Regions from separate parts of the Homo sapiens genome. Here all the other regions are linked to region 1. The links are contacts of gene promoters, found by promoter capture Hi-C in blood cells and fetal thymus (Javierre and others, 2016). All regions are on one chromosome and are shown on one strand. Each heading gives the region's core, a stretch centred on a gene start or on the middle of the fragment in contact. The rest is flanking DNA. Distances are from core to core; before and after follow the strand shown. Region 1 holds the start of PSMB1 (proteasome 20S subunit beta 1). Region 2 overlaps WDR27 (WD repeat domain 27). Region 3 overlaps WDR27 (WD repeat domain 27). Region 4 overlaps PHF10 (PHD finger protein 10). Region 5 overlaps DYNLT2 (dynein light chain Tctex-type 2). Region 6 overlaps ERMARD (ER membrane associated RNA degradation). Region 7 overlaps ERMARD (ER membrane associated RNA degradation).

Region 1 (4,238 bases), core at 439-2,938:
GTCTACCTAGAGATTTGGAAAACCATGATGGCCTGAACCGAGAGACGGGAGACCCTGCAAATAAAGTGGTGTGTATTATATCTTAAGCGCTACCGTGCCCGCTGTCTCAGGCTTCTGACAAAATATTTAAGTCTCAATGTTGGCAGCAAAACAGGCGGGCACAGATCTGGGTGAATCTGCTTCTAACATGGAGAAGAAGCGGATGGCAGGACAGGGCAGGGTAAACTTAGGGTCTTCGATGCAAGGGACTGTCCTGTCCCGCCTGCCGCCGCCCAGCCAGCCAGTAGTACCCTGAGCCCCACAATCGTACGATGGGAAGCTGCCTGCGAAACACAGCAGAGTAGGGCACCAGGCGGGAGTGGCGGCCGAGTGGCCGTTACAGGCCGGAACGGCGGCAGCACGAAAGGGAGGAACGTCCCCCGAGGGGCCTGCACGCGCGCCAATTCCTAGTCTCTTCCCCACCATTGCCCCCAGGCCTCAGTGCAGTGGTGGCCTTCGCCCGAACCGTCAGAAAAGAGTACAATCTGTTACCTGGGTCACTGCAAAGATCACTATGGGCCAGCGGAAGCGAAGTTAAACAGCCGGCGGCCCAGGCGCCCGCCACAGCGAACCTGCCCGACCTCACTGAACCCCTGGCGCGCGTTGATAATGTCACTTCCGCCAGTTCTGCCCTCGGCTTCAGCGAGTTGCTCCCACTAGGGCCGAGGCCATGAGAAGTGTGAGCATAGGTCACTTCCTGTGTTTCCATAGGTAAGGAGGGGCGAAGCTCTTGAGGAGTTCCGGGGCGGGGCCGCCGTGCCACAGCCATCTCTAATTGGCCCTTGCTGGACGTAGGAAAGATCGATTTTTAAATGGCGTGTGTGTGTATATGTGTGAGTGTGTTTTGTTGTTGTTGTTGTTGTTGTTTAAAGCAACTAGCGGCGTTACCTTCGACAAGTTACCTGACCTCTCCCCCGCATTTTTTTTCTGTAAAATTGAATAATGATAACAGTGCTTACCCTTGGGCTGTCGGGAGATTGACAGAGATTGACAGAATCAGTGCCTGAGCAGTGCTTGGCACTCAGTAAGCGCGTCCTCCTTACCTGTCAGCAAGAACGCTAGCTGATCTTCAAGCGTGTAGAATGACAAGGAACACTAAGCAAAACAAACAGCTTGTGTTTACACATGCATTTATATTCAGTTCTGCCACTCCCAGTTCATGCACTGTTGTCACATGGCTCTTTCCGCAGTTGTTTCTTAGTGGGACTTCAGCACGCCTTGATTTTCCCTTCTGTAGTTCATTGTGGCGTAATCATATGTTATACTGCTTGTTTTCTTTGTACTTTTTATTATCAGTGAGGTTGTGAGCTCTTTAAGGATAGGAAATGTTATATACATTTTTTATTAGCCAGGACAATTAACGTTCCCACCGTTATTCGAGTTGCCGTTGCGCCATAGTTCTGACAATTTTTTTGTATGGTCAGACTTAAATTTTTGTCCATTGGGGTGAATTCCAATGTTTTCTTCGAGGGGGAAAAAAACAAAAAACAAACAAAAAAAACCCTTTACATCCCTGTCAGCGCTTTTTGGAATGGGCGGGATTCAACTACCAAAGGGACAAGCCGCCGTGCAGCCCTCCAGGAGCAACGACTAGCGTGAGATAGAGAGGCCGGGAGCGAACTTCAGGAGAAGCCGGAAGTGGCGTAACGTCCGGTCAAGGCAGCCATCTCGCCGTGAGACAGCAAGTGTCGGATCCGCAGGCGCAGCCGTGCGATGTTGTCCTCTACAGCCATGTATTCGGCTCCTGGCAGAGACTTGGGGATGGAACCGCACAGAGCCGCGGGCCCTTTGCAGCTGCGATTTTCGCCCTACGTTTTCAACGGAGGGTAAAAACCCCAGAGAGCTGCGGCTTTCACTTTCGCCCTTCCCCCATCTGCTGAAGCCTATTTAGGAGTCACCGCCGTGATGGCGCTGCCCCGGGCTCCTGCAGGCCTCAGAACCCTGAGCTGAGGGGGTCCGCACAAGGCCGGTCTCCCTGCCGTCCTCTCATGCCCTGTGTTTCCCTCTTCAGGCTCGCTTTGCTCAAGTTTACTTGGTGATTGCGATACAGCCTTGGTTTTTAGGGTTTCCCATTACAGTCATGTCATTTGAGTTTTTATGTGGACCGCCACTCCGTGCTCCTTGCTGCTGTAAGACAGTAAAGTAGAAATTGAAACATAGCCTCTGCTCTGTGGAAGACCATTAAAACTGGACCTCATGTACACGTTTCTTATGCCAGCCGGCGAGGGTAGAGGGTTAGCGTCTGAAACTTAAAAGTTAGGGTTGTTTGGTCTGTGTTGTTAGATGCATAGCTGGGTTGGTAGCCGAGATGTCTAATTGTAGCCGCCTGATTTCTGTTATTTCTAATTGTAGCAGTTTAATCATTTTGTTTTATTTCAAATAGAAGGTGGGATTGGCTGAGCAAACTTAGTTTCATAGATAAGTGCTTTTTTTTTTTAACGTTTAGCTTAAGTTCAGGAAAACAAAATACTCAGAAGATGGACCTTTTAGTATGTGTGTTCTTGTATGTTATGTTCAAGTTTTGGTTTTTATTTTAATTACCAGCTTTATCTTGAGTAGTATAATTTTCCGTGGTGGCACGCCAGAGATTTAGGGTTATAGAAAGATGCTCTGTTTAAGACTCTTGACAGGGAAGAGCTGTAAATTGAAACAGTGGTTATAGTTACCAATCAAGCCTTGTACATTAAAATATACACACGCAATTTGAACGAACCGATGGTTCTTAAAACAGAAAATATTGGCTGGGCAGTGTGGCTCGCACCTGTAATCCCAGGACTTTGGGAAGCCAAGGCAGGAGGATCATCGCTTGAGGCCAGGAGTTGAAGACCAGCCTGCGCAGCATAGCAAGACCCCATCTCTACAAAAATAAATTTTAAAAACAAAGCAAAAATGTTAATTGGTTCCTCATAAATTTGAAATATAAATGCACATTTTGGGAGTGTGTTAGAAAGATAACGAAAGTCTGATTTTAGCCTTGGTTCTGCCACTAAAGGACACTTTGGGTACTTCTGAACTTCTTGAACCTAAATTTCCTTATCTTCCTTAGTAGCTTCATAGTTTTTGGTGAGAATCAAGAGAGATGCATTTTGTAAATTGCAAGCTGTCATCTTATTTAATCCTCATGAAAAGTGAATGTTAGATGATATTAGCATCCTAGGGTTATATTAGACGTTAAACTGTCAGGGTCAGAGAGCTGGTGTGAAGTTGAGCCAGGACTTAATTCATAGCTATTTCACCACTGAGTTTATGGATGCTTTTCCATTATACACCTTAACACTTCCTGTGATGACTAATTAAGTTGTATATTGTAGGGAGGGTTATTGGACCCGTTTCGTAAGGCTATTCTCTATAAATAAGAATTTTCAGTGTTCAGTATGCCCTACTCGTTACTCACTTTTTAATCCCTTGTAATCCAGTTTAAGCCATTACTGCCCTAAAAATTACTTAGATCTTTCTGATTACTTTTTCTCAGTCATTGTTCTTTTTCTTTAGTGTTTACTGCAGCTGGCTCTCAGGCAGCCTTCGCTTCCGCAAAATGAGGCCTCATTCTCTTTTCCTACTCTGTCTTTAAATGTAGTTAAGTCATTAGCCGCCTTGTTTATCGCTCAGCACTCTTTCATGTCTCATTGCTGGGAGGATTACTCCCAAATCTGGTTTTCCAGTTCTGCCTCTCATGAGTCCCTCGATTCGGCTTCTTCAGTAAAACATTTTTAACTGGTTTTTCTGCTCTCAGGGCAACTCAAGACAGCTAGCAAAACAAAAAGCAAGCTAATTATTCCCCTTCATCTCCTCTTCTCCTTTCTTCTTATTTTTTGAGACAGAGTCTCACTCTGTCACCCAGGCCGGAGTGCAGCGGTGCGATCTCAGCTCACTGCAACCTCCAACTCCTGGGTTCACGCATTTCTGCCTCAGCCTCCCGAGTAGCTGGGATTACAGGTGCCTGCCACCACGCCTGGCTAATTTTTGTATTTTTAGTAGAGATGGGTTTCACCATGTTGGCCAGGCTGGTCTCGAACTCCTGATCTCAGGCAATTGACCCCCCCCCCCCCCCTCAGCCTCCCAAAGTGTTGGGATTACAGGTGTGAGCCACCGTGCCCGGCCTCCTCTCCTTTAAAATACTTATAATTATGCCATCATTCTGTTCATCTAAGTTCTAAATCTTGGATGTCATAATTGGTTTTCCCAGTTCCTAAAACATT
Region 2 (4,238 bases), core at 1,200-3,699, 960 kb after region 1:
ATACAGTATATGTTAGTATCTAATTTTGAAGAAAATAAACAAATTTCACAAGGTGGAAACAATAAGAACCAAATAATAAGTAGCCACACATTAATAATGGAGACTAACGTATCTGTCTCAGTCCTTGGCAGGTCAAGTGCACAGAAATTATAAGGTTATAGGAAACCTCTATATCATAATTGATAATGCATTATCTTGTAGATATTCATAGTAATGTTTGTCTGCCAGCAAGGAAAGTGTCTTATTTTCAAGTGCACATCAAACATCTATGAACAATGACCATAAATGAATCCAGAGAAAAGCTCAATACATTAAAATAAGAACAAAAAATCAACATTTTCTCACTATAATGCAATCAAAGTACAAATTTAAAAACCAAAAAATTTCTTGCTTCTAAATATTAAAATTCCATCTGTTAAGCAACTCTTGGTTTAAAGGTGTCAAACAAAATAGGAAATTGTAGAATTTCTTGAAAATAATGTTGTTTCTAACATGATATATCAGTGTCTCTGGAATACCCATAAACCAGTTTTTGAAGGGAAATTTATAGCACCAAATACCTATATCACAGACGTTTTTAAAAGGGAAAAAATAAATGAATATCTACCTAAAAAGCCAGACAGGGAACAACAAAGTAAATCAGAAGAAATAAATGGATAGAGATAAAAGCAGGTGATAAGTTAGAAAACAGAGAATCAGTAGAATTAATAAATAAATTAAAACACTAGTTGTGTTTTTTGTTTTTTGTTTGTTTGTTTGTTTGTTTGTTTTTTTGAGACAGAGTCTTGCTCTGTTGCCCAGGTTGGAGTTCAGTGCCGCGATCTCAGCTCACTGTAACCTCCGCCTCCCGGGTTCAAGAGGTTCTCCTGCCTCAGCCTCCTGAGTAGCTGGGATTACAGGCGCCCGCCACCACGCCCAGCTATGTTTTTGTATTTTTGGTAGAGATGGGGTTTCACTATGTTGGCCAGGCTGGTCTCAAACTCCTGACCTCAAGTGATCCACCTACCTTGGCCTCCCAAAGTGCAGGGATTACAGGCATGAGCCACCATACCTGGCCAAAACACTAGCTTTTTAAAAACACAAGCAACAAAATAAACTTAATAGTGCAATTTTTTTTATAAAGAGAGAAAGCTTAATCTATAATAAGAAATGAGGAGGAGGCAGAAGCATGGAGCAGAAGGATTTTGAAAATCATGAGACTGCTTCTCATAATTTGTGCAAATTAATATGAAAGCCTCTATACAAATGGTTGAGTCACAGAAATTTAGTTTATCAAACTGGCCCCCAAAGTAGAAACAAATTTAACAGGCCACTTTTCGTAGAAGAAATAGAGAACGTTTCCTAAGAACTCCTTGTGAAATAGTACCAGGCCCATGTGCTTTCTCAGGGGATTTTACCAACCTCTTAAACATCAAATAGTCCCAAAGATACTTAACTGTTTTAAAGCATAGAGAAATAAGGAAGACATCAGACTGCTTTTTGAAGTAACCATAACTGATAGAAAACTTGATGAAATTTCAGAAAGGAGTTATATTTCATTTATGAATATCAATTGAAAAGCTTAAATAGGAACATAGAATTAGTGCATTAACAATAATTTATCATGTCCAAGTGGGGTTTATGCGTAGAATGCAAGCATGATTCACTATCAATAAATCCACTAATAATTCCCTCATAATATTAACTGATACAAAAAGAGGACTCTTATAACCATGTTCCTGGATGCTTCAATAAAATTCTGGATTCATTTCTGCTAAAACACCCGGTAAAAGAGGAATCCATGAATGCCTCTTTCAAATGATAAAATGCTTATCTCAGCCCAAAAGCTGACATCTTACTGAGAAAACTTTAGAGGCATTCTGTGGTTGGGAACAGAGCCAGAATGTTCATTAATTCCATGACTATTTTACAGGGTATTGGAGGTATTTCTCTTGAAATTAGACAGGACAACTTAACAGATATTACCACTGAAAAGAACAGCTAAAATTATTCATAGGTGACAAGATTGCATATCTGGAAAACCCAAGATAATTAGTGGCCAATATGAACAATAAAATAATTAAGTGAAAGATTAGTAGTAGTATTTAAACTAATATATGGAATTCAATGGTCTTTATAGATATAAAAAATAACCTCTGAAAAGTTATAGTGGAAGAGGAGAACTCATTGAGAATAGCCTCAAAAAGGATAAACCATTCCGGTATTAACAAGATTTCTGCAAAACCTGCATTAAGAACATTTTTTTCCCCCAGAAGTGTAGACCTGGACAAACGCAAAATCCTAACTTGTTCTTGGATAGGAAGATTTAGTTTCCTAAAGAAGGCAGTTCTCTGTAGGTAATGTGTAGATTTAACACTCCCCCAACAACAACAACAACAAAATGCCAGTAGGTTTTTCTGTAGCTGTACTGTTAGACTGAAAGTTACTTGGGAGAATAAACAAGTAACAATGGTCCAAATACCCCCGGAAAAAAGAACATGATGATGAGGAGAACTTGCCCTGTCAGCCGTTAACCTCTGTTGGAAAGCCTTTCGAATTAAAACCATGTGCAACTGGTGCACGAATACCAGTATTTCTTAGCTCCTGCCACGGAAGGTGCTTGGAAGCAGTGACATTCCAGCCATCACCCTTAGTACCCTCTTTGCAACCTCTAAATGCCGTTCCCCACTAATAGAAGCCAGAACTCCCTGGGTGGAGAGCTGGTTCCAGGTCTGTGGCAGAAGACTTACAAGATGAGCCAGGGACATCTTGTGCCAAAGAGAAAAGAAATCAAAGGGTAATGGAGTCATATAACAAGGCCACAGGCAACAGCCAATTCCCAAGGCCTTAAAGCTGCTGCTGCCTTAGGCATGCACTACTGTCTGCTGGTTAGACCAGCGGGCAGCACCACACCTGTGCCGTATTCTGTTGGCCAGCGGAGGGCTAGCTGACCATCCAAAGAGTAATGACTGTGATTGACTTCAACATTGTATATCTAAACCCTCATCATTTTTGATAATGCTCCCCCCAAAAAGCTATAGCTAAAAACAAAAACATAAAATGTCATTGGTCCCCATTTGGAGGTAACTAGGGCACCTGTCCCTTAGTCAGAAGTGTGTCTTATAAAGGAAAATAATTAAACATTTGTCTGCCTTTCCTGTTCGGACTGTATTTTAAGTAAACCAAATACCCTACTTGGTAAGGGAAAGTTATTTCTTAGAGAATTGCAGACAAGTAGAATGGATGAATGGCAGAATTAGAAAATCACCCTCTTCAATCTCAGATGGAGTAATTGACTTAGGCAAATGTCATCAGTAGGTGAAATTATCAGATGAAGATCATGGCCCAAAGGAAGCTTGAATAATAGACATTTTGCTTAAGAACACATACAGATGGCCAATGGGTACAGGAAAAAAGGGCTCACATCACCAATCATCAGGGAAATGCAAGTCAAAACCATATTGAGACACCACCTCACACCTGTTAGAATATCAGAAAGACAGGTGATGATGAGGATGTGGAGAAAGGGGAGCTCCCGCACAGTCGGTGGGAATGCAAAATGAGGTAGCCACTGCGGAAAATGTGTGTTGTTTCCTCAAAGAGCAAAAAGTAGAATCCACATGATCCAGCAATCTCACTCCTGGGTATTTGTCCAAAAGAATTGAAATCCGTATATGGAAGAGATACCTGCGCTTCCATGGCCATTGCAGCACTCTTCACAGTATCCACAGTGTGGAAGTACCCTAAATGTCCGTCTCAGGGGAATGGATAAGGAACATGGAGCGTAGACACAGAATGGCATATTATCCCAGGCCTTAAAAAGTTACTGCTGCCTCAGGTATTTACCACTGTCCACTGGTTAGACCGGTGGGTGGTACCACACCAGTGCCCTGTTCTGCTACGTCTTTACAAGAGGAAGTGCCAGAGAAAAGGGTGGGGTTTATTACTGTGTGTGCCATATTTATTTTGCCAGACCTTGATGGAGGTTGACAAGAGTTGGAGATTGTGCGTCAGCCTTGCAGCCTGATGAGATGGTGCCATTCGCCTCCCATGGCTGGTGTGGCGGGCGGCCAGGTGGCCCTGCGTGCCACCATCAGGAATTCTCTAACAGAGCCTCTGCCTCTTGCTGTAAGGAGGCAAGGCTTCTGTCTTAGTGTGACTTTGTTTTAAATCTTGCACGTTTTGGTCTTCTGAGAATAGTTTACTTTTTTATAAACTAAAAATTCAGTATCTGAAGAAATGTGCAGAATATTCAGAAA
Region 3 (4,238 bases), core at 643-3,142, 880 kb after region 1:
TCTGGATTCTTACATTCTTCCAAATCAGATTTATGTTAGCTTCTGGTAGCCAGTCATGCTCAGGGCACTGGCAGTCCTAGATTACCCTAAGCCAGTCAGGTGTTAAGTCAATTCATAACTGGGTGTCAGTTCTTATGAGGGTTGTTTTATTTCCAGTTCATCTTTACTCCTTGGGTTTTGTCTTTTTTGGGGTTCCCATTCTAAGCCTAGGGGGTTTAGCAGCATGCTCATCCCTCTCACCTTAGTAGATTGTATTCTAGGCAGACATTTACTTAAAATCCATTCATATTTCTTTACGGAAAAAAATTGTAGAGTTATCAACATTAAGGCAATCAGCTGTATCACAAAATTACTTTGTAATATGACAGAAATCTTTTCCCTTCTCCCAATATGATAGTTCTGTTTGTGTCCCTGAGGATGACTCATTTAATTACACCATTTTTGTGCCCGTAGCCCCTTGAATCTCAGCTCCTCAGCTGCCTTTAGTGGAATTGTCAGAAAATTGTCTTTATAGTAGATATCTTTATGGGACAAGTGACCCCAGCATCTGGGGTCACTTCCCTCAGTTTTTTTCTGCCCTATATATAATCTTGTTACCATAATTCTTCAACGACCTAGTTGCTTTCTGATGCCTTCAAAATGTGTGTCTCTCTGTGTGTATATGTATATGTGTGTGTGTTTGTATATATATATAGTGTGTGTGTGTGTATATATATATTTAATTTTGTCCAGTTTTTCTTGTAATTCTCATCAGTAGGATTGGTACTAATGAGGTGACGTATCCTGCCTTTACTAGAAGTGGAATTCTCCAGTGATATCTCTCATATTAAACTGCCTGTTGTCTATTTAACATCGCCTTATAAGCATCTCAGCTTACTATGGACCCCCAGTCCCATCCCATTTTCCCTCTGTATTTTGTTCTTGAGACATTGTTCGCCTAGGTTTTTAACCTCAAACCCTATCCCTTTGCTTTTGTTTTTCCCTCCATCCCTCCATATCCATTGGTCACGGAATCTTCAGTCACCATCTCCTCTCCATCTCCATCATCACTGTCTTTCTTAGTCCAGGTCTTTATTGGATTTCCCTTGAGTGTTTCATGCATTCCCTTCTGTCTCTCCAGCCCAGTATACCCCCAACACTCGTCTGCTCCATACTTGTAGCAATGTTTTGTTCCTGGAAAACAAATCTAGTCACTGTATTATTCTGACTGTGCATTTTTTGTTGGATTTTAATTTCCTAGAGTGCTATCAACATTCCTTGTGTAGTTGCCAAGGTCGCCACACCTGGGCCTCACCTTTCTCCAGCCTCCTCTCACTCCTTTGCTTGTCCCAGCCGTTTCTTACCCATGCCTTGTTTTCCCAGGGACCTCATTGCTCCCCTCATTCCTCTCCTTATTCTTCAGTTTTCAGCTCAGCTGTTACCTCTTCTGGCATGTGGTGGAGACATGTTCTATATTTGATTAACTAATAAGTGATAAATGGAAGAACGAGGTAGCCTGTATCTTTTTATTAGTGTGTGTGACAGTGAATAGCAGTGAAATGGTTAACTTGAGAGAATAATTTAGTAGTACATAGCAGGGATTTTAACAAATGAATTAACAATGAATATGTAAGATAAATGTATTTGAAAAACTCAATCTTTTAATTTCTTAGGTTTGAAGTTATGTTGTTATACTCTTATTTTTAAATGTCTGTGATCTGTGTTTTATTTTTGTTAATTTTCCCAGCTTCTAATCCTACGAGGACACCATCAGCCAATTACTGCTATGGCTTTTGGAAATAAAGTGAACCCACTTCTAATCTGCTCAGCATCACTGGATTATGTTATAATGTGGAACCTGGATGAATGTAGAGAGAAAGTACTTCAAGGTAAATGAAAATCTAAAACATGTTTTTAAAAACCTGCAAAAGGAATAACTCATCCTTCAGTATACTTGGTACCACCCAAGGGGTGTTTCCCTTGGGTAACAGCAGTCCCTCGGGGGGTTTGGGATAATTTTGTACTCTCTTTACCTTGAACCCAGGCATGCAAGCAGGCGCTTTATATGGGAAGGGCCCCAGGCCATTCAGACTTACGGACCTTTGCTGTCTGTTATGCTGATCTTATAGGCTCATTGGTTTTGATCTTATGTCCCTTTTTATTTTAAGAACTGTCCATTTTGTATCAACCTGAAAACATGTAGGAAAGTTGAAATATTCTTTCCTTGCACAGCAAGGGGTCTTGAGCACCTGTAATATTTCAGGCTGGAGACACAGTGGTGAATAGGAAGGGCTTGGTCCCAAATCCTGTGGAAGTCACAGCTCAGAGTTTGAGAGAGACACTGTGTAAGCCAGCGACTGAGTGGCTGTGAATTGTGAGTGTGCAGAGGAGAAGGCAGATGAGGCCAGGGCAGCGTGCACATGCATGGGAGCCTTTGAGAAGCAGGATCTCGGAGGGGCATGTGCGCTGAGGGTGAGGGTGAGAAGGGATGAAGGTGCCAAGGCCCTGGGAAGAGTGAGAACCTGCCTGTGTGCTTGGAGCATGCTGATGTTAGGAGAGTCTCATCTGAGGAAGTCGAAAAGTTAGGTGGGGACCACGTTAAGGAATTTGAGTTTTGTGCAATTATATAGAGAAGTTAGAGGATTACATTAAAACATAAATGCAAAGAGACTATAAATCTATGTATTCTATGTAGGGACATGAGTACGTGTCCCTCTCTAGACTGGGTGGCTGTGGGACATGAACATGTGTGTCTCTCTAGGCTCCGGGTGCCTGTGGGACATGAGCACGTGTCTCTGTCTAGACTTGGTGGCTGTGGGACATGAGCACATGTGTCTCTCACAGGCTCTGGGTGGAGTATATCTGCATTTTGCTGGTGATAGGTCCATGGTACACACTAGGACCAGATGACCTTGCCTGCCATTTTTTCTTTCACCTGTGTGGATTTGCATGACGGGCTCTGCATCAGGCTGCAGCTGCTGCACATGTCCGGGTCTTGGGAACCTCCTGGCTGCTTGTGGGTGTCCTGTCATTGCTTAGTCCCTGGAGGCCTGGGTTGGATAGGCTCCTACTCCTTTCCTTCCAATCAATGTTAGCTGAACCTATACATGAGGGTGGACATGGGGTTGGATGTGGGTGAGAAGCATCGAAACATGCAGTTTGATGTGCATGATTCTCACTGCACAGGTACTGCAGCCTCCAGAGAAAGGCATCTTCGTGTTTCGATGCTGAGAGAGTCTCTGCAGGGAAGTGCTGCATTCCCCAGGTTTTCAGAAGACTTCTGTATATCCAGTATTTTTGATATTCTTAAAGAATCAAAATCACATCAAAGCTCATTGTCATTCTCTCAGTAATTTTAGAATAGAGGGTTACATTCTCAGTACTTTTCTCAGATTAATGTAATGCTGAATGCATTTGGTAAACTGGCACTAATGGTGAAACTCACTCTAGGGCTGGTCCCTCGAGGGACTGTCATGGGCTCGCTTTTGGGAAAGGTGCTGTGTTTACAGTTGAGCCTGGATGATCATGTTGTTGCCGTGTGTGCTGGAAACAAAATATTCATGCTGGATATTGAGGTAAGATTGAAATTCACGTGGATTTCACGGAAGGGTTTAGCTGATGGGGCCTCCCAGGTTCTGGGACCTTGCCCAGCGGTCTTTTCTTTTTTCCTGTACTCCTTTTTTTTTAAGCTATATCTTCAATTTAGTTTACTTTTATAAAATCATATCTTTATCTTGCAATTGGAAAACCACTGGTATCAGATAGCAATATTTATATAAATATTAAAACTCTTTATGGAATCTGGGTGTCAGGTATGACTTTAGAGAAACATGTTCTGCAAAACTATTATTTCTCAGATATTCCCTGATTGTAGGCATCCTTCCTAGCATAGCGCTTTTGTTTATATCTTTTATCAAAATGTTCTTTTCATCAAGAATCAGACTTTTCCCACCAGGGTTAGTTAAAGGAAATGTGTCACCTCTTCCTGCCTGTGTGATTTCGACCTCGTGTGTGACTAGAACAGTCAGCTGCCCCATTGCAATGTTAGAAAGCAGTGTTAGAAATCAGGAAGTGGGAATCTAAGGGAACACGAAGGAGGACTTTTGTTTCCTCTGAATTGTTGCTCTGCCCAAGCCTGATTTTGTAGGTGACCCCAGGCCTGGGGTCGTTTTGTCAACATGGCTCACAAAGCTGTTGGCCTGAATAGCTTTTCTTTTGATAGCCACTTAATAAACGTAGGCGAGGAAGGATGTTCGGCA
Region 4 (4,238 bases), core at 90-2,589, 830 kb after region 1:
TCGGGGGCGTGGGCCCAGGCCGGGCGCCGCGCCTGAGACCGGGGGTGGTCGGCGAGGCGGGGCCCCGAGGTGAGCCCGCGGCCTCTAGCGAGCAACAAGTGCGGGCGGGCGGGGGACGCGGCGCGGCTTCCCCGAAGTTGGCAGCCGGCCCTGCTTGACAAGCTTGTCCCCAAAACGCCTCCTCCTAGGCCAGCCGTGGGACGGAACGCGCCCGGGGCCGAGAGAGTTGGCCTCGGAGGGGCCTGCAGAAGCGCGCGTTCGCTCAGCGTTCATTCCGCGCATAGTTTGCCGAAGTGTTTGAACGCTTACTGCAAAAACCGAGTGGCGAACGATATGGAAAATCAACACACTCAGTGAACTTACTGTAATAACTAAGTTAATACGCAAGCGTCCGGATGTTTTCAGCGGAAGTCTGTTAAAACTTTTTACTGCTTGAGGAGGTGAAAAGAAATTGGTGCTTGTGGAGAAAATGGAGATGAGCAGTAGTGTCACGCATCAAAACGTTTTGGTTCTAAAGTTAGGCTAGCAGTTTGTGACAGAAAGTTGGAAGGGAGGAATGATGTTTTAAAAGCCTGGAAGCTTGAAATTGGATTGAAATTAGAAGGCGGTGGGAACTGGAATGCTGCAGAGCCAGCCAGCCTTCGTGCGGTGCGCGGTGTGCCGTGTGCGCGTTGGCAGGGGAAGCCGTCCTGTAGCAGCCTAGCCGGGCTGCGCCTGCTTGGGAGCTTTTCCCGTTGCGCACGTCCACCGTGCTGTGAGACTCATTTTGAAGGTTCCTCAAAGGCTGTCGTCAATGGAAGTAACTAGATTGTAAGACTCTGAATGCACATCCTTGCACTTCCAGCATTTGACGTCTGGCCCGGCACCTGGAGGGCACTGAGCCAGTGCCCCCTGAGTGCATTCTTGACCCCTGAGCCCTAGGAAGGATGTGATGCATAGAAATTCATCTGATCTGTAGTTGGAAACCACCTGTAACTCTGGAAGGCACATCTCTGATTTAGTATGTTTGGGAGTCTTTGAAAACATGGGCCTCTGTATCAGTATTGCGGTTACACGGAAATTCTTACCTTATTCCGTCATGTATTGGGAACAATATTGCTGTTACTACCTCCCTCAAGAAAAAGGCCCGCTGCCCAGATGCTCACTTTATATAATAATGCCTTTGCCTAGAATTTGTAGTAGTAATTTAAAACACTTGATGAAATTGTAGTCTCAGCTTTTTTGAGCACTTTGCATTTTTAACTTTATTTTTGTATATTTTTGAGTGTCTCAACTTTTTAGCTAAAGGAAAATGTTTTTAAGTTTAAGGATATAAAAATCCTTAAAATGCTCACCAGTAAAATAGAAAAAATACTGGAATGTTTAAAATGAGTTATGTTGAAAGTATTGAATATGCAGTGTTGCAGTTGTATGCAGATACTTATGCAAATTTTCAGAGAGTAGATTTAGACTATGCAAAGCTCTTTAATGAAATGCTTATTTTATAAGGACTGAAAAAGAATATATATTTTACTATTTGGAAAAGAACCAGTTAATTCCTAGGAGCTAGAGACATTTGAGACTTTATTATCATCATAATCATCATTTTAACTAATATTTATCAGATAACTCGCCAGTCCTTGTTCTAAGTACTTTTAATATAGTAGCTCGTTTAATCATTGAATTAGCCATGTAATGGGGCACTATTATAGTCTCAAATTTTCGGATAAGGAGATGCTCACAGAGAATAACCTACTCAGCTAGTGAGGGACAGTGCCCAGTGAGAACCCAGGCCGTCCAGCTCTGGCATGCCTGGCCACTATACCATATTGCCTCTTTATATTCTTTTGCAGGATTGCTTTCATTTTAATATGTAGCAAGAGGACTATAGTATTTAGCAAAATTGGATTAGCGTTGAAAGCTATATTACATTAAAAAATTATGATTTTTAGACTTTAAGCCTTGGCTAATAAGTAAATAAATCAATTTCCTAACATCTGATACTTTTTCTGAATGAAATGGTTGAATTTATAACCTTGATGTTCTTGCCACATAATGGATTACATTAAAAATATATAATCTTCTTTAAAAAAAAAATTCCCCTCCCCCTCTCAAGCTTCTTTTTTTGGTGTGTGTGCTGCTATATTATAGATTGATGACCCTTATTAGGGTATATTTTTGCTAAATTTTAGCAGTGTAAGAGGAAGAGTGAATAGTTAGAATTGTTTTCGGTCTCATATGTCCCCTTTTCACAGGGACATAAATGCCTAAAGTAGTCAATTAAAATAGTCCTATGAACCGGCTTCAAGTTGAATTGAGAACTGTAAATGATCCATACATTTTTTTCCCCCTGAGCTTGGGTAGGAGAGTTTGCTTTAATCCTAGAGTGATGCAGCAGTTTGATATGTTTATGAAGAGCAGAAACCAAAGCAGATTTGCATTTACGGGTTCATTGAAAATGTTCTTATTTGGATTGGATTGAAGATCAGTTTTAAATTTTATTCCAGGTCTTGCTCATGCCAAACTCTTGGACCCTTTTAATTATAATATGAAGTTAATACTTGTATGACTAGTTGTCCTTAGACAGTCTTTCATTTATTGAGACTTACTGTTCTTTTATTCTTTCTCTAATTATTATTTTTGAATCTTTTAAATGTATAGGATGATAATGAAGATAATTCAAATGATGGGACCCAGCCATCCAAAAGGAGGCGAATGGGCTCAGGAGATAGTTCTAGGAGTTGTGAAACTTCAAGTCAAGATCTTGGGTACTGTCATTTTATCGGTTATTAATATTTTTTGTGATGTTCCTCTTTGCCTTAACATCCTCTTCCCTTTCCCCCAGCTCTGGCAAAGGCAATTATTAAAAATTGTAGAATATTTTCTTCCTGTTCTATAATGTGCCATCAAAGTTGGTCTTGCTACTGAGTGTAATTAAAAAGCAATTTTATGATAGTAAAATACATACATACATAAAATTAATCATTTTAACAATTTTTAAGTGTGAAATTCATTGGCATCAGTTACATTCACAGTGTTGTGCAGCCATTACCACCATCCATTTCCAAAACTTTCACTACCCCAAACTTTATAACCATTAAGCAATAACCTCCCTTTCTCCCTCTATTTAGCGCCTTGCAACCATCATTCTACTTTCTATTTCCGTGAATACGACTACTTAGTTACTTCATATAAGTGGAACCATAAAATATTTGTCCTTTTGTGGCTGGCTTATTTCTCTTAGAACTTTGAATATCTTCAAGGTTCATCTTTGTAGCATATGTCAGACTTTTTTTCTGTTTTTAAGGCTGAATAATACTCCATTTTATGTATATACTGATTTTGTTTATCCATTCAGATGTTGATGGGCATTTGGGTTTCCACCTTCTGGCCAAGGTGAATAATGCTGCAGTGAGCATTGGTGTTCAGAGTTTGTGTTTTCAGTTTTTTTGGATGTTTATCTAGGAGTGGAGTAGCTGGATTATATGGTAATCCTATGTTTAATTTTTTGAGAAGCTGCCAAACTGTTTTCCATAGGGGCTGCACACCAATTTACATTCCTACCAGCAATTCACAGTTTCCAGTTTCTTCATATTTCTCACCAATTTGTTATTTTTCATTTTTTAAAATAATAGTTACCCTAAAAGGTGTGGAGTGATATTTTATTGTGATTTTGATTTGCATTTTCATAATGCCTACTGATATTGAACATCTTTTCATCTGCTTGGCCATTTGTATAGCTTCTTTGGAGACATGTCTATTCAAGTTCTTTGTCCATTTTTTATTTGGGGTTTTTTTTGTTGTAGGAGCTTTTTAAATATATTTTATATATTAATACTTCATCAAAAATATGATTTACACATATTTTCTCCTGTTCTGTGGGTTGTCTTTTCACTGTCTTGATAGTGTCCCTGTACAAAATTTTTAATTTTGATGAAGCCCAAATTTTTCATCTATTTTTTCTTTTGTTGCTTGTGCTTTTGGTGTCATATGTAAGAATCTACCTTCAAATCCAAGGTTGTGAAAGATTTCTATGTTTTCTTCTAAGAGTTTTCTAGTTAGCTCTTATATTTAGGTTGTTGATCCATTTTGAGTTGTGATATGAGGTAAAGGTCCAATTTTATACTTTTGCATGTGGATACCCAGTTTCCCAGCACCATTTTTGAGAACACTGTTCTTTTTGAAGGTTACTTTTTAAATAGATGGATGCATAACATAGTGTCACTTTCCCATGTCCAATATAGAGGTTGAATTGGCCC
Region 5 (4,238 bases), core at 804-3,303, 810 kb after region 1:
TTCCTCAAAATTGTTACTGAAATAGGTAAGCATAAAATTTATTTAATATTATTTAGTTAGGAATATATTTATTTTAAAACAGTTATATATATATTATTTAGACATGTTTTCTACTTGAATTTTTATATAGAAAATATTTGGTTTGAAAATAAAAGTATTTTTCTTAAATTTTCTTAAAGGAAAGTCTTAAAGATGTCAAATATGATGATAAAGTATTCTCTCACTTGTCACTTGAATTGGCAGACCGCATACTGTTAGCAGTCAAAGAATTTGGGTACCACCGTTATAAGTTCATTATAAAAGTATTATTTATTCAAAAGACTGGCCAAGCAATAAATGTAAGTACCCCATTGATACAGGATCTAGCAATTAGAACTATAAGGCATCTCCTCCCTAGTGATTTGATTTTTATTGTGATGACTCAAGGGCATGCCATAGATTCTGAGGTACTTTTTGAAGGAAAGTATCATGTTGTTAAGTATATTTATTTCACTGTAAATTATTTGAAAAGTACAAACCAGCTGGGTTCGTTGGCTCATGCCTGTAATCCCAGTAGTTTGGGAGGCTGAGGCAGGTGGATCACCTGAGGTCAGGAGTTTGAGACCAGCCTGGCTAACATGGTGAAACCCCGTCTCTACTAAAAATACAAAAATTAGCTGGGCATGGTGGTGGGTGCCTGTATTCCCAGCTACTCGGGAGGCTAAGGCAGGAGACTCACTTGAGACTGGGAAGCAGAGGTTGCAGTGGCCCGAGTTCGCTCCACTGCACTCCAGCCTGGGCAACAGACTCAAAAAAAAAGAAAGAAAAGTACAAACCTAGAAGTAGCAATTTGGTACTACTAATTTATTAAATTGCACTGCTATTCTGTTCCTTGATCATATCAATTTTGACAGTTTAATGTCATTTAAGTTAACCAGTAAATTTATTTTGGGCACTAATAGGTGTTAGGTACTAAGGAAAATCAAGGAATGATAAAACACGGACCATGATTCTCAAGGAGATTTTACTCTACTTAAGGAGATAAAGCAGCACAATTTAGAATTCAGGGAAATAAAATGATAGGGATAATGTAAACAGCCTGGGTTTTGGAGTCAGATTGCCTCTGCCACACTTGCTGGCTGTGGCCTTGGCACAGTTTCTTCATCTATAAAATGGTGATGATAAAACTGGCTTCCTAGAGCTGTTGTGAAGATTAAATGAAATTATCTGTATTAAAATCCTTAACATAATCACCAGCACAGAGCCCTCAATAAACAGCAAGGTAATTATAAACATTATTTATTAATAAAGAGATAATATCACTAGGCTGTGTAATTATGTAAGGAGTTGGTAAGGAATATGTGGGAGTTGGAGAGAAAAGAGAGAAAAAGCTGTGTTTGGAAGAATCTGTAGAGGTTCCATAGAGGAGTGGACTGCATGATGAAGCATGGGGAGGGGGACCTGGACTGGCAGAGGGGTACTGGCGAGAGAACCGCCAGTCAGCAAGAAAGAACCGTCCTGGCTCCCATGGAGAAGAGAAGCTGCACCACATATGACATACAGACTTAAGAAATAGGGACGTTGTAGATGATAAGTGCTACAAAGAGAACATTAAGGTAGGGATATGACAGAGTAGCAGAGTGGCTACTTGGGATTGTTTAGAGAAGGGAGAACCCTCTGATGTTCAGATAAGAAGGAACCAGCTGTACCAAAGAGAAGGGAGAATGTTCCAAGCAGAGAAAACTTCAAGTGCAAAGATCCTGAGGCAGGGATGACTTGGAGTGCTTGATATGTAACAAGTGTAGCTGGACTAGTAGCTAGTAGATAGTGGCATGATGTGCAGTGGGGGAATGTTTCAGCTTATATTATTGTATAACAAACCACCCCAGAACTGAGTATCTTATAACAACAGCCATGTATTTGCTTACTTTCTGTGAGTCAGCTCAGCCTGGGTCAGCTACTTGGCTTTTCTGCTGGTCTCACTGATGCACTTGTAGCCCTCTAATGACTTACCTGGGCCTGCAGGTCCAAGATGGCTTCTGTCACTTGTCTGACTGGTGGGCTAGCTGTGGCCTGGGCACCTGGGTTCTCCTGCATGTGAGCCAGCATCCTCCAATAGGTTGAGTGGGCTTTCATAACATGGGGGTCTCAGCATAGTGTTCCACGAGTGTGAGAGCAGAAGCTACAAGACCTCTGAAGGCCTTGCTTGGAAGTTTCACAGTGTCATATTTTACAACTCATAGCAAGTCACAAGGCCAAGACTTATTCACAGGGTGGGGACATAAAGTCAACTTCCTAATAGGAGAAGCCATAAAGAATTTGGGCCTTTTTCGGCCAGACGTGGTAGCTCATGTCTGTAATCCCAGCACTTTGGGAGGCTGATGCGGGTGGATCAGCTGAGGTCAGGAGTTCAAGCAGCTTGGTCAACATGGTGAAACCCCATCTCTACTAAAAATACAAAAATTAGCTGGATGTGGTGGCAGGCACCTGTAATCCCAGCTACTCAGGAGGCTGAGGCAGGAGAATCACTTGAACTCAGGAGGTGGAGGTTGCAGTGAACCGAGATCACGCCATTACACTCTAGCCTGGGAAATAAGAGTGAAACTATGTCTCAAAAAAAAAAAAAAATTGGGGCCATTTTAGATCCTCCACAAAGAAGTGGGCTGGAATCAGATCACATATGGGTTTGTACACAGAGAAAAGGAGTTAGAATTGTCCGTAACAGCCTACTTGTATAGTTACTGCCATTTCTTCATTTCAAGGCAAGGCCCTGACAAACCTCTTTGGCTGAAAATCTTTAAAGGGTGGGAAGACTTCCTTATCATGGACTACATGGCAGAGTCATACTGTATGCAGAGCCACTACATCCCCATTCCCAGGGGCCTTCTGCTCCTGGCCCTGGAAACACAGCTAAGGGAGCCTCTCTCTGTTTAGAGAAAGGCCAGCCTCCGGTAAAGAAGAAGGATGGGCTGGGGCAGCGTCATTCTCCAGGCTCTTTATGAAAGGGAAAACCAGACAAATTACATCTTAAAAATAATTTCTGAGATACTGATGCATTCATTTTTAAAAAACTAGTGTAGATTTGAAAATTACTTCTTAATATGTTCAATCTAAAGTTGGTCTTTACAAAATTTCTCTCACAGATTGCCAGCAGATGGATCTGGGACATTGCATGGGACAGCTGGGTCGCAGCTAAACACGAAGCAGAATCCTACGTGGCACTGGTCTTGGTGTTTGCCCTTTATTATGAATAGCTCATTACAGGTACTAAGGATTGTTTACTTCCGAACTTTTCAAAAATAAATGAAATTTACATATTTGTAAACCTCATAATATTTCTGATTTGCTATATTCTTATTCTCATTTGAGGCCTTTCAATTGTATTATTTTAACAACAAAGTAGAAGCCAGATTTTTATATTTATACTTACTGTTATATTAACTAACATAATATTATGCCAAAGTAGTATAAAAGGTGTATGCATGTGTGTCTGTGTGTGTATATATGTATGTATATACAAATTCTTATAGTAGAGTATAGGGAAAATATCATTTTTGTAAGATTTAAGAAAATGATAATTTGCTACAGGAAATTAAAATGCAACCTTGTAAAGTATCAAATTCAGTAGATGTTAAGATAGATTTTGGAAATTTCTAATGATATTTTAATACTTTGTATTCATTGTTTTGAAAGGAATTACCAAGTTTGAAAGAAAGATGTTATTATATTTCATAATTCCCTAATATCCTCCCGCTCCAGCCAAACTGCTTACAAGTGTGTAGTCAATTTACTAATCTATTAGGCTCTGTTAGGCTCTGTGAGCCTTCTAGGATCTTTTTTTCAGATGCAAGAACTGAAAATTCATATTAATTGTTTAAAGAAATGAGGAAAATTTTATTTCCCAGGGATTTGATCAAGGATCCAGGTTCTCTCCAACTTCCCATTCTCCCCACAGACTTCCACGTACATTCATTTTGCTTGACAGAATTTAATCATGTTCCTATGACTAGACCAGTTGTAATTCCCTCCTTAAGATTGGGGCTGGAGCCTACCTTTTCTGAAGCGTGAGATCATGTGAAAAGTGTGGCTATTTGCCAGCCACAGTGGCTCACTCCTATAATCCCAGCACATGGGAAGGCCAGGGTGGGAGGATTGCTCTAGCCCAGGAATTTGAGACCAGCCTGAGCAACATGGCAAGACTCCATCTCTTAAAAAAAAAAAAAAAAAAAAGGAGAAAATTGTGGATCCAGTGTACAAAT
Region 6 (4,238 bases), core at 1,238-3,737, 790 kb after region 1:
TGTTTCATGATTCTGAACATGTTTCACTCATTCTAAGACTTCCAGAAAATATTAAAAAGTGGATCCTGAAAAATAATTCTATCACCTGCACCAAAAGGCAATGTTTCCAATATAATCACAGGCGGTCCTTGAAGCGACTCTATGAAGGTGTTTTATTTTCAGGTCTGCTCAAGTCAGTCCAGGTTCTCTTCACTTCTACTCCAACAGCAAAAAGCATCGAAAGTGAAGGGCATCAAGAAAGAATGGCCTCCAACCACTGCAAACCACTCTGCCATGTACCCTTTAGTTACCTGTGTGACTTGAACTTGACCAGTGCAACTTCCCAATATGGTAACATGATTTTTAATATAAAAGCAGATTTCATCATCACTTCTTCTAATACTGAAAGCACCTCATAAGTAACATCTGTAAAATAACACACGGTTTTAAACACAATCATACTGATCAACTGAAAAAAGATGGAAACATGCTGGGGGAGTGATGCCAATGAGCCAACCCCTTTAGGTGGCTGAACCGTGACCCCTGCAGCAGGGGACTTGTTAGAGAGTAGGATTGCCCTGACCAAGGGCCCGAGGTGCAGGTGACCCTTGGAAAGTGGGGCATGGACATCTCTTCAGTGACTTAGGCAACAGTTCAGGATGGACCAACTGAGCACAATGACCAAGAGAAGTAAAACACATTTTCAGAAGGTGTAAAAGACCCTTGATATTACTACAAGTATTTCTGGCATAATGATCATGAGTACAAAGACACAAGAGGTAAAAGGAGGAGAAAATGTACATCATACAACAGCCTGAGGCCACTGTTGCTCATAGTGCATCTGAGGAAGAAAGAGCTCAGCTCACACAGCTGCAACTCCTGTGACCCCCACAACAACCCCAGGGCATGGTGGGAGGAGGCAGGGCTTTGGGTGGTAAAATGTAGGAGGTTCTTCAAGCAACTCTGAAAGCCATCCGACTACTGAAGAACAACTACTTCACCCCACCTCAAGAGTGCACCTCTTAATGCTGTTTACTGACTTTGCAAATATCTACGCAAAGCTATAAGGAAAAATGTGAAACATAGTACTTACCAGGAAAAACAATCAAATCCTCGAGGTTTGTAAGAGATATGAAAGAGCGATGTGCCAATGTAAGTTTAGTGTTTTGAAGGTAACTCTTCAGTAACTGACCCAATCCTGCCGTCAACAGTATCATCATTGAACAGTATCTAGGAAATACCATAGAGATCTGTTACAAAAATGTACTCAATCATGCCTATAAAAAGCTTCACTGTGAAAAATACAAATTTAAAATTAAGAAAGCAAAGTTAAATTGCATGAAACTGTCCGATCACGGTGGCTCATGCCTGTAATCCCAGAACTCTGGGAGGCCGAGGCGTGCAGATCAGTTGAGCTCAGGAGTCTGAGACCAGTGTGGGCAACAAGGTGAAATCCTATCTCTACAAAACATACAAAAAAGTTAGGTGGGCATAGTGGCGTGTGCCTGTAGTCCCAGCTACTCAGGAGGCTGAGTCGGGAGGATCACTTAAGCCTGGGAGGAGGAGGTTGTAATGAGCTGAGAATGTATCATGGCACTCCAGCGTGGGTGACAGAGTGACACTCTATCTCAAAAAAAAAAATTGCACAAAATTCTCTCGATGTAGGAATTAGACTGTGCAGTAGTTGGGCAGCACAACAGCACCACAGACACTCTGATGAAGACCCTAATGAAACTCAGGGTCTCCCACCCACCCAGGACGTGAATGGCATAACATCCTTCTGGTGTCACCCCTGAATTGCCTTTGGGGTGTAAGTCACTGAAATTATAACCCAGTCATCACTCTGGTGACTACACTAGTAATATTCAATTTTAGCTTCAAAATCCTATCTCAAAACTCACTTATCTTTCACAAAATCTATTTCCTTCTCATGAAATTCAAAATTTAAAAAACTCTTTGGTAGATCCAAAAAAGGAAGAAAATGTCTTCACTTGCAACTTACTTTGGAGGAATTTCTTCAGGTGACGCAAACCCATGCCATAAGACGTTACGCAGGTTGAGACCACACGGAGAGCCAACGAAGACTTTTAGCACATTCATCTAATCCGCAAATCATTACATAGTTAATTATACTGAATTACTGAATAAACCAATATAGTATGAAGATAACATTTGTGTTCCTCTTTTTAACTGAGAGTCAACAGTTTTGGCTAGTATATAGCAGTAATAATAAAACCAACATTTACTGAGTGTTTAATATGTGCTAGACACATTTTGTACATGTACATCAACTCATTCATCCTAAGAACAACCTATGAGGAAGGTACTATGATTATCCCCAGCATCTAGGTGAAAAAAATACAAGCATGGAAAGGTGAAACCAAGGTCTCAAAGGCTACAAAATCAATATGGGGGATAAGATCTGACCCAGGTTATCCTGCTTTAATAAAGTTGCTTCAAATGTGCATAATATCTAAATAAAATGTAAAAAGACAATGATATGATAAGCAGAAACATATCACTGTATTAAGCAGCACGCAATTGTGTGGTTAAACAGAGGCAGCAGGGCAGATGCCCGAGCAGCATGGCTCCAGGCTTGAGCCTCCACTTCCTAGCTGTCTGACGTGAAGCCCATCACTTATCCACCCCACCATCTATCTACAGAGTGAAGAAAACACCCAACCAGGCGTCCTAATAAATGGACTGCAGTCATGTCATGCCCAGAGAACTGCTTTGGGTTTGAGGCGCCATACTTAGAAGAAACTCAGAACATAATGGAAGATGTTCAAAGACTAAAAGAATTCATGTCATAGGAGAAAGTATGGTTGAGCCTCCAGAAGACTCGAGAAGGAAGTGAACACTGTCTTCATGCATGTGAAAGATGGCTGTTGAGAAGGGAATATGGACGCATTCTGAACTTCCCTCAAGGGGAAGACCCAAAACCAGGAGGTGGAAATGATCAAGAGCAGTTCTACTGAATGTTGGAACATTTAACAAGCAGTTCTTCTATGCAACTTCAGGAGATCTTTTTGCTCTACCAATAATTTGTGAAATACTCATGGTTCACACTATCTGGTCAATCAGATGTATAAATGCCAGTGACCTGGCAGCTGAAGGGGCCACAAGTGGGCAGAAGGCCCATCACATATAAGCAAGTACCAAAGAACAGATCGAAGAAACAAAATGTGTTTGAGAATTCAGTGTAACAAGAGGTTTGTACTTTTTATCTTCATTCCATGCACTCCACAAAAGAAAATGATCTTTAAGCGGACAAGGAGTAAAGATCCACAGAAAAGAATGGAAAAGCTCCACTGAAGACAGATTTCTTTACTCCAAAAATCATCTAGCACCCTGGCTTGGCAAGCACAGCTTCCACACAAGGCTCTTCTGGGTTTCTCCATCTTGACCCTGCCTCAATCAGCTGCCTAAGGTTATTCATTAGTCCTAAGTCTCTTGATCATGTGCCCTTTATGAGATTTTAATATAGTATAGTAACTGCATGATTTTTTTAACATCTGAATTTTTTTCCACTGTAAGTTTAAATGGTTTCAAAAGATAATTTCACGTTAAAATTTTCAAATAAAACTGTATTATCACTCATTTAAAGGGTTAAAGTTGTATTCTGGATTTAGTATTATAGTTATTAATATGTAATTGATCGAGGCAACATGCTTCACATTGGCCCTGTGGTGCCCCAGAGTTATTCACACTCGGGATAGGAAAGCTTTCTATGTGCTGGAGGAGGGGCAATTTTGAAAGGGAAGGTGGGAAGGGAGAATATGCTTGAATCACTGATACAATTTTTCCCTAAAGCATCATCAGTTTGGGAAGAACAAAAGCTCAGCATATGTGAATTGTTGTTTTGCACTTACTCCGTGATATGGTTTGGCTGTGTCCCCACCCAAATCTCAACTTGAATTGTATCTTCCAGAATTCTCCCATGTTGTGGGAGGGACGCAGGGGGAGACAGCTGAATCATGGGGACCGGTCTTTCCCGTGCTATTCTCATGATAGTGAATAAGTCTCATGAGATCTGATGGGTTTATCAGGGGTCTCCACTTTTGCTTCTTCCTCATTTTTCCCTTGCTGCCGCCCTGTTAGAAATGTCTTTCTCCTCCTGCCATGATTCTGAGGCCTCCTCAGCCATGTGAAACCGTAAGTCCAATTAAACCTCTTTCTCTTCCTAGTCTTGGGTATGTCTTTAACAGCAGCATGAAAACGGACTAATATACTCCATGAGTTTAGATGAACAAGCTTAC
Region 7 (4,238 bases), core at 620-3,119, 780 kb after region 1:
TATCTCACTTGTTTTTAATTCATCTTTATTAAATGTCCATAGAGTTCATATATACCTCAATGTTTAACATTGTAAGTGTTTTGGGTCTTCATTTAGAAGCTTGGTAATATTTGTATGACCAGAAACATGCTGTGGGAACTTAACTTTTGTTTCTATCATGAAAGGAAAATAAATCTCAGGACCCCAAACTCACTAAGCCAAAGGGAAAAGCCAAGCTGGGAACTGCCTCAGGCAAACCTGCCTCCCATTTTATTCCTAAATAAGGTGGCTACAAAGAGAAAAAAGCTACATACAGACCTCCCTCATAATTTGTCCACAAGGAAATTCCTCATGGGCCTCAAGATCTTTACCCTGAAAGAGTTCTGCTGAATTTCTCCCTGGCAATGTAGTTGCTAGCTGATCTTCCCAGGTGTGGGACAGGAAGTCATCCCCCAGCTCACCTGAGACAAATGCCTATATGATTGCTTCCTCTGCCCTATGTAAAATGCAGCTTCACTGAGCCACACTAAGGTCTAAGTGACTATTCCTCTACCCCCACTCACAAGTAAATTGTGTATTCACCGAAAGGCTCATCAAAGACTCAAAACAATGCAATCCTTTGTCTCCTGTCTACCTATAACCTGGAAGGCCCCCACCTTTGTATTTTCCCGCCTTTCCAGATGGAACCAATGTACACCTTACACCTGCGGACTGATGTCTTATGTCTCCCTAAAATGTGTAAAAGCAAACTTCGCCCCAAGTACCTGGGGTACATGCCGTCAGGGCCTCCTGAGGCTGTCACAGCATGTCCTTAACCCTGGGAAAGTAAACTTTCTAACTGGATTGAGACCTGTCTCAGATACTTTGGGTTCACACTCAGTTGTGGACTCCAAGTATATCAACACCTGTCGATGGGGTTCAGTGAGGGGCTACTGTGTGTGTCTGGAAGTGAGGACTAGAACTGCATCTGTGACAACTTCCTGCCCCACAGTGCCCCTCCAAAACAGGAAAGTGAGCGCGCACCTACTCCACATACGCAGGTAGTTCTGCCGCTGGCGAGACCGCAGCGTCCTTTCCACCCACTGCCTGTGTCTCAGCTCTGAGGCAACGGTGACCTGGCTGGACACACGGCGGCACTGTTCGCTGATGCTTCGGAGCACAACCAGCACTTCCAGCACAATCCTGGGGCAGAACAGGGTGGGAACAGGTGTGCTGCAGAGCTCACGGAGAAGCTGGGGCCACCTGCAAACAGAGCCAGACTTGGAGCAGGCATCATGATCCTCACCTGGGCCTCACTCTCCTTCTGCACCTGCAAGGCTGCGGCTTTCTGGGAGCCAGGGCTAGCGGCGTATCGCTGGTTGGTCTGCAGGGACAACCGTGACACGCGGCAAGTGTTAACTAAACACACTGAATTGTGGCAAACAGAATGTGGCATTCACAGCCTCATCAGATGTGCCAAGCTTGCACAGAGATTGTCAAAACTTATCTCATAATTCCTCCTGGAGCAGTAACAGTGGGATTCTAAGACTACTACCAAGTTTATAAAATCTAAAACATAGAAAATGCTAAGTTTGCTATGCTAATCTGCTGAATCAATGTTTCAACAGTTGTCAGGATGTCCTGGAACTTACGTCTCAGTAGGAAGACGATCCAAGTCCTTTAACACACAACGATTCTCAGGCATATGGTGATACAGCTCATCCGTCATTTTTGTAATCAAAGAGTGGCAGGCATTTGTTTCAGAATTATCTTCTAATCTGAAAAACAGAAAATATTTAAAGATACGTGACAATTAAAGTGCTCACATCAGTGCCTGTGCACAAGAATGTTCAATGGTTCACTGAGCAGCGACCTGACTGTGAATCTCACTTTCCTCAAATATAAAATGGAAAAAGCCACCATGACAATACAGTGGAGAAACAAACGATGCCATATGCCAAGAGCAAAGTCCAGTGACGACGAGACGATGAACCACCTGCGTATTCTTCCTGCTGAACAAGGATGTCTGCTGTTGTTTACGATTCCAGAATTTATGTCTCCATCCCTACTTCTCTCCTGAGCTTCAGACCCATCTTTCTTCCTATCTACTCAGGGTACTTCTCATGGACGCCACTGTCTACCCACAAAACCTGCCTCTCGTTCCATGTTCAGTCTCCACCAGGGCCCCATGCCAGTTGGAAGATCGCATTCAGCGACACTTCCAGCTCCCCACAGCCTGCATCAGCCACCAAGGCCCAGAAATTCCTCCTTCCCCTTTTATCTTCCCACAGCCTCGTTAAAGAAGAAATGCTGCTGAAACTAATAGTACCAGACAAGCTTGAGGTCAGCCAGGCCCCAGGATGCCACGCACCTGACGGCTTGCCGAGTGAGTTCTTCGGGGAAAGGCAGCAGAGCCCAAACCCTGATGCTCTCCTCACAGCTCAGCACCTGGGAGGAAATGTTTTATTGCTTTTGTAGATTTCACAGTAACTTCCTAGAAAATCTGTGTTTTTATGGATGTTACATCACTCTCTAGAAAATACGTAAATTATTACAAATTCTAAACATTTTAAAACCAGATGGTGGGTGTCAGTTCTTCAGTACATTCAGATGGGGGAAGGCTGCGGAAACTACCAGTGGATTGGAAGGGAGTGAACGTCTGGGGTGGCTATGACCATGTCCACAGGTTCTTTGGACACCTGCCATTGAGAGGGAGGCCCCCACCAAATCTGCACGAGCTCTGGCGACTGGCCTGGAACCAACAGAACACAGCAGGTGTGACGATGCTGTGCAGCATCCAAAGCCATGTCAGAGGTGCAGGTGCCTCTCCAGTTCAGGCCGCACTCGAGGTGCAGCAGCTGTCACCTTGGGACTGTCCCTGCAGGACCCCCATGAAGCCCCTGGCCAACTTCCAGCCTTCTCAGATGGGACACCCACGAAGCCCTGGGGGACCACAGCCATCAACGCCCAGGTCAGGCCACAAGACAGATCCCTCGGCAGATGCTCCCCATTTCTAACCCACTAGCGTATGAGCAAGTACAACGGTGGCTGCTGACACCAGTGAGCGTGGGTGGTATCAACAGCAGGAATAACGGAAGCCCAGGATGCAAAGCTGCCTGAATACCTGTGAGATGCCAGGAGGGGGACAGGAAGTGGTAAGTACCCAAAATAGCCACCATGGGGCACAGCAGAGGATGGCCTGGAGTCTCAGTGGCTCTGGTTAGAAGACAAAGGCTGCCTTCTTGAAGCTCCTCTTCCTTCCTAAATCTTCCCTCCTCCCTACCTGCCCACCTCCACCTTCGTAAGGGCTTGCTCTTGGAAAGCACGGCATCCCCACTGGTAAAGCTGGTCCACAGCGCCAACGGGGAATGGCATCTGACCAGCACAGCCCGATGCTCTGCCTCCGAGCCACACCTCCAGAAGGCTGTTTTCCCAACTTCACTGTTGACAACCCCCTTCTGACCGTATTTTCCTTAAGGCATTCTCAAGGAGGCCTCAGACTTCTCAAGGCACCTGCCATCACGCCCGGCTAATTTTTGTATTTTTAGTAGAGATGGGGTTTCACTGTGTTAGCCAGGATGGTCTCGATCTCCTGACGTTGTGATCCGCCCGCCTCGGCCTCCCAAAGTGCTGGGATTACAGGCGTGAGACACTGCGCCCAGCCTCTAGGCACCGTTTCTTTAAAATGCCTTTGCAAATCTCTCCTGACCCGCCGTGTGTTGATTTTACAGCTTCCTTTTAGAGGTAATCTCATTTATAAATTTTCACCTGCACAACTGTCATGATGCTTATATTCTTGGGGACTGTCTCTTTCATCCCCTTGCACTACCCTTGTATCCTCCCGTATGTAGAATAAAGCACCTTAGCTGATTTCCAAATTGGAGCCTCCTGGCAGAAACACTTAAAAAATTGTTTGTCTCAGTAAGTTAACAAAAGCTAGTCCGTGTAGAAGAAAAACTGACGTTACTCACCACTGACAAATAAAAACTGCTCCTAGCTCTGCGTTACTGCTGACAGCAATAACAGCCTGCCAGGGGACTCAGCAAAAACACTTCCCAGTGCTCATCCATTTAACACTAAAAACCTCAGTGCCGTCAGCACCGCATTACTTTCAACTGCTAGACACGGAACTTGAGACTCAGAAGACTGAGCAACCAGGCCAGCGCCACAGCAGGCCCCGCACTGGTTAAAAAGCTGGATCTGCCCAACTCAAAGTCTGACTCAGCAAGCAAACTGCACCCTTCCAGCATCTCTGCAGAAGACAGGTGGTTTCAGAGACA

Evidence for each region. The method cuts DNA at HindIII sites, captures the fragments that hold promoters and counts their contacts. A CHiCAGO score of 5 or more calls a contact.
Region 2: a fragment that was not itself captured here is called in contact with the fragment with the promoter of PSMB1 in region 1 in 1 of 17 cell types (total B cells); the score reaches 6.1 in total B cells.
Region 3: a fragment that was not itself captured here is called in contact with the fragment with the promoter of PSMB1 in region 1 in 1 of 17 cell types (M1 macrophages); the score reaches 5.8 in M1 macrophages.
Region 4: a contact is called between a fragment that was not itself captured here and the fragment with the promoter of PSMB1 in region 1, in 17 of 17 cell types (naive CD4 T cells, total CD8 T cells, total CD4 T cells and 14 more). The highest score is 26.9, in naive CD4 T cells.
Region 5: a contact is called between a fragment that was not itself captured here and the fragment with the promoter of PSMB1 in region 1, in 14 of 17 cell types (total CD4 T cells, naive CD4 T cells, monocytes and 11 more). The highest score is 19.0, in total CD4 T cells.
Region 6: a contact is called between a fragment that was not itself captured here and the fragment with the promoter of PSMB1 in region 1, in 17 of 17 cell types (total CD8 T cells, monocytes, naive CD8 T cells and 14 more). The highest score is 39.1, in total CD8 T cells.
Region 7: a contact is called between a fragment that was not itself captured here and the fragment with the promoter of PSMB1 in region 1, in 16 of 17 cell types (M1 macrophages, naive CD4 T cells, total CD4 T cells and 13 more). The highest score is 14.8, in M1 macrophages.

What each region holds. Positions count from the first base shown.
Region 1 is chr6:170,550,757-170,554,994 of GRCh38, reverse strand. It overlaps PSMB1 (proteasome 20S subunit beta 1), which reads left to right and starts at 1,688. Exons shown (of 6, transcript NM_002793.4): 1 at 1,688-1,865. The coding sequence starts at 1,753. TBP (TATA-box binding protein) reads right to left here and starts at 626. Exons shown (of 8, transcript NM_003194.5): 1 at 532-626. RefSeq lists enhancers at 356-745, 1,556-1,935. The HindIII fragment of the contact is 7,721 bases long and covers 1-4,238 here.
Region 2 is chr6:169,590,385-169,594,622 of GRCh38, reverse strand. The region is part of intron 23 of WDR27 (WD repeat domain 27); the gene reads left to right. Among named protein-coding and RNA genes, the nearest start is that of WDR27, 110 kb to the left of the region's middle. The HindIII fragment of the contact is 1,774 bases long and covers 1,563-3,336 here.
Region 3 is chr6:169,669,885-169,674,122 of GRCh38, reverse strand. WDR27 (WD repeat domain 27) reads left to right here. Exons shown (of 26, transcript NM_182552.5): 3 at 1,727-1,868; 4 at 3,430-3,554. Among named protein-coding and RNA genes, the nearest start is that of WDR27, 30 kb to the left of the region's middle. The HindIII fragment of the contact is 5,121 bases long and covers 1-4,238 here.
Region 4 is chr6:169,719,514-169,723,751 of GRCh38, reverse strand. PHF10 (PHD finger protein 10) reads left to right here. Exons shown (of 12, transcript NM_018288.4): 2 at 2,641-2,747. Among named protein-coding and RNA genes, the nearest start is that of PHF10, 2.9 kb to the left of the region's middle. RefSeq lists a silencer at 1-150. The HindIII fragment of the contact is 1,516 bases long and covers 582-2,097 here.
Region 5 is chr6:169,739,180-169,743,417 of GRCh38, reverse strand. It overlaps DYNLT2 (dynein light chain Tctex-type 2), which reads left to right. Exons shown (of 4, transcript NM_174910.3): 3 at 180-338; 4 at 3,123-3,309. The coding sequence ends at 3,233. Among named protein-coding and RNA genes, the nearest start is that of DYNLT2, 10 kb to the left of the region's middle. The HindIII fragment of the contact is 6,040 bases long and covers 1-4,238 here.
Region 6 is chr6:169,756,809-169,761,046 of GRCh38, reverse strand. ERMARD (ER membrane associated RNA degradation) reads right to left here. Exons shown (of 18, transcript NM_018341.3): 6 at 1,982-2,079; 7 at 1,073-1,209; 8 at 291-405. Among named protein-coding and RNA genes, the nearest start is that of ERMARD, 7.3 kb to the right of the region's middle. The HindIII fragment of the contact is 2,437 bases long and covers 1,269-3,705 here.
Region 7 is chr6:169,773,438-169,777,675 of GRCh38, reverse strand. ERMARD (ER membrane associated RNA degradation) reads right to left here. Exons shown (of 18, transcript NM_018341.3): 14 at 2,330-2,406; 15 at 1,611-1,736; 16 at 1,003-1,221. Among named protein-coding and RNA genes, the nearest start is that of LINC00574, 15 kb to the left of the region's middle. The HindIII fragment of the contact is 856 bases long and covers 1,442-2,297 here.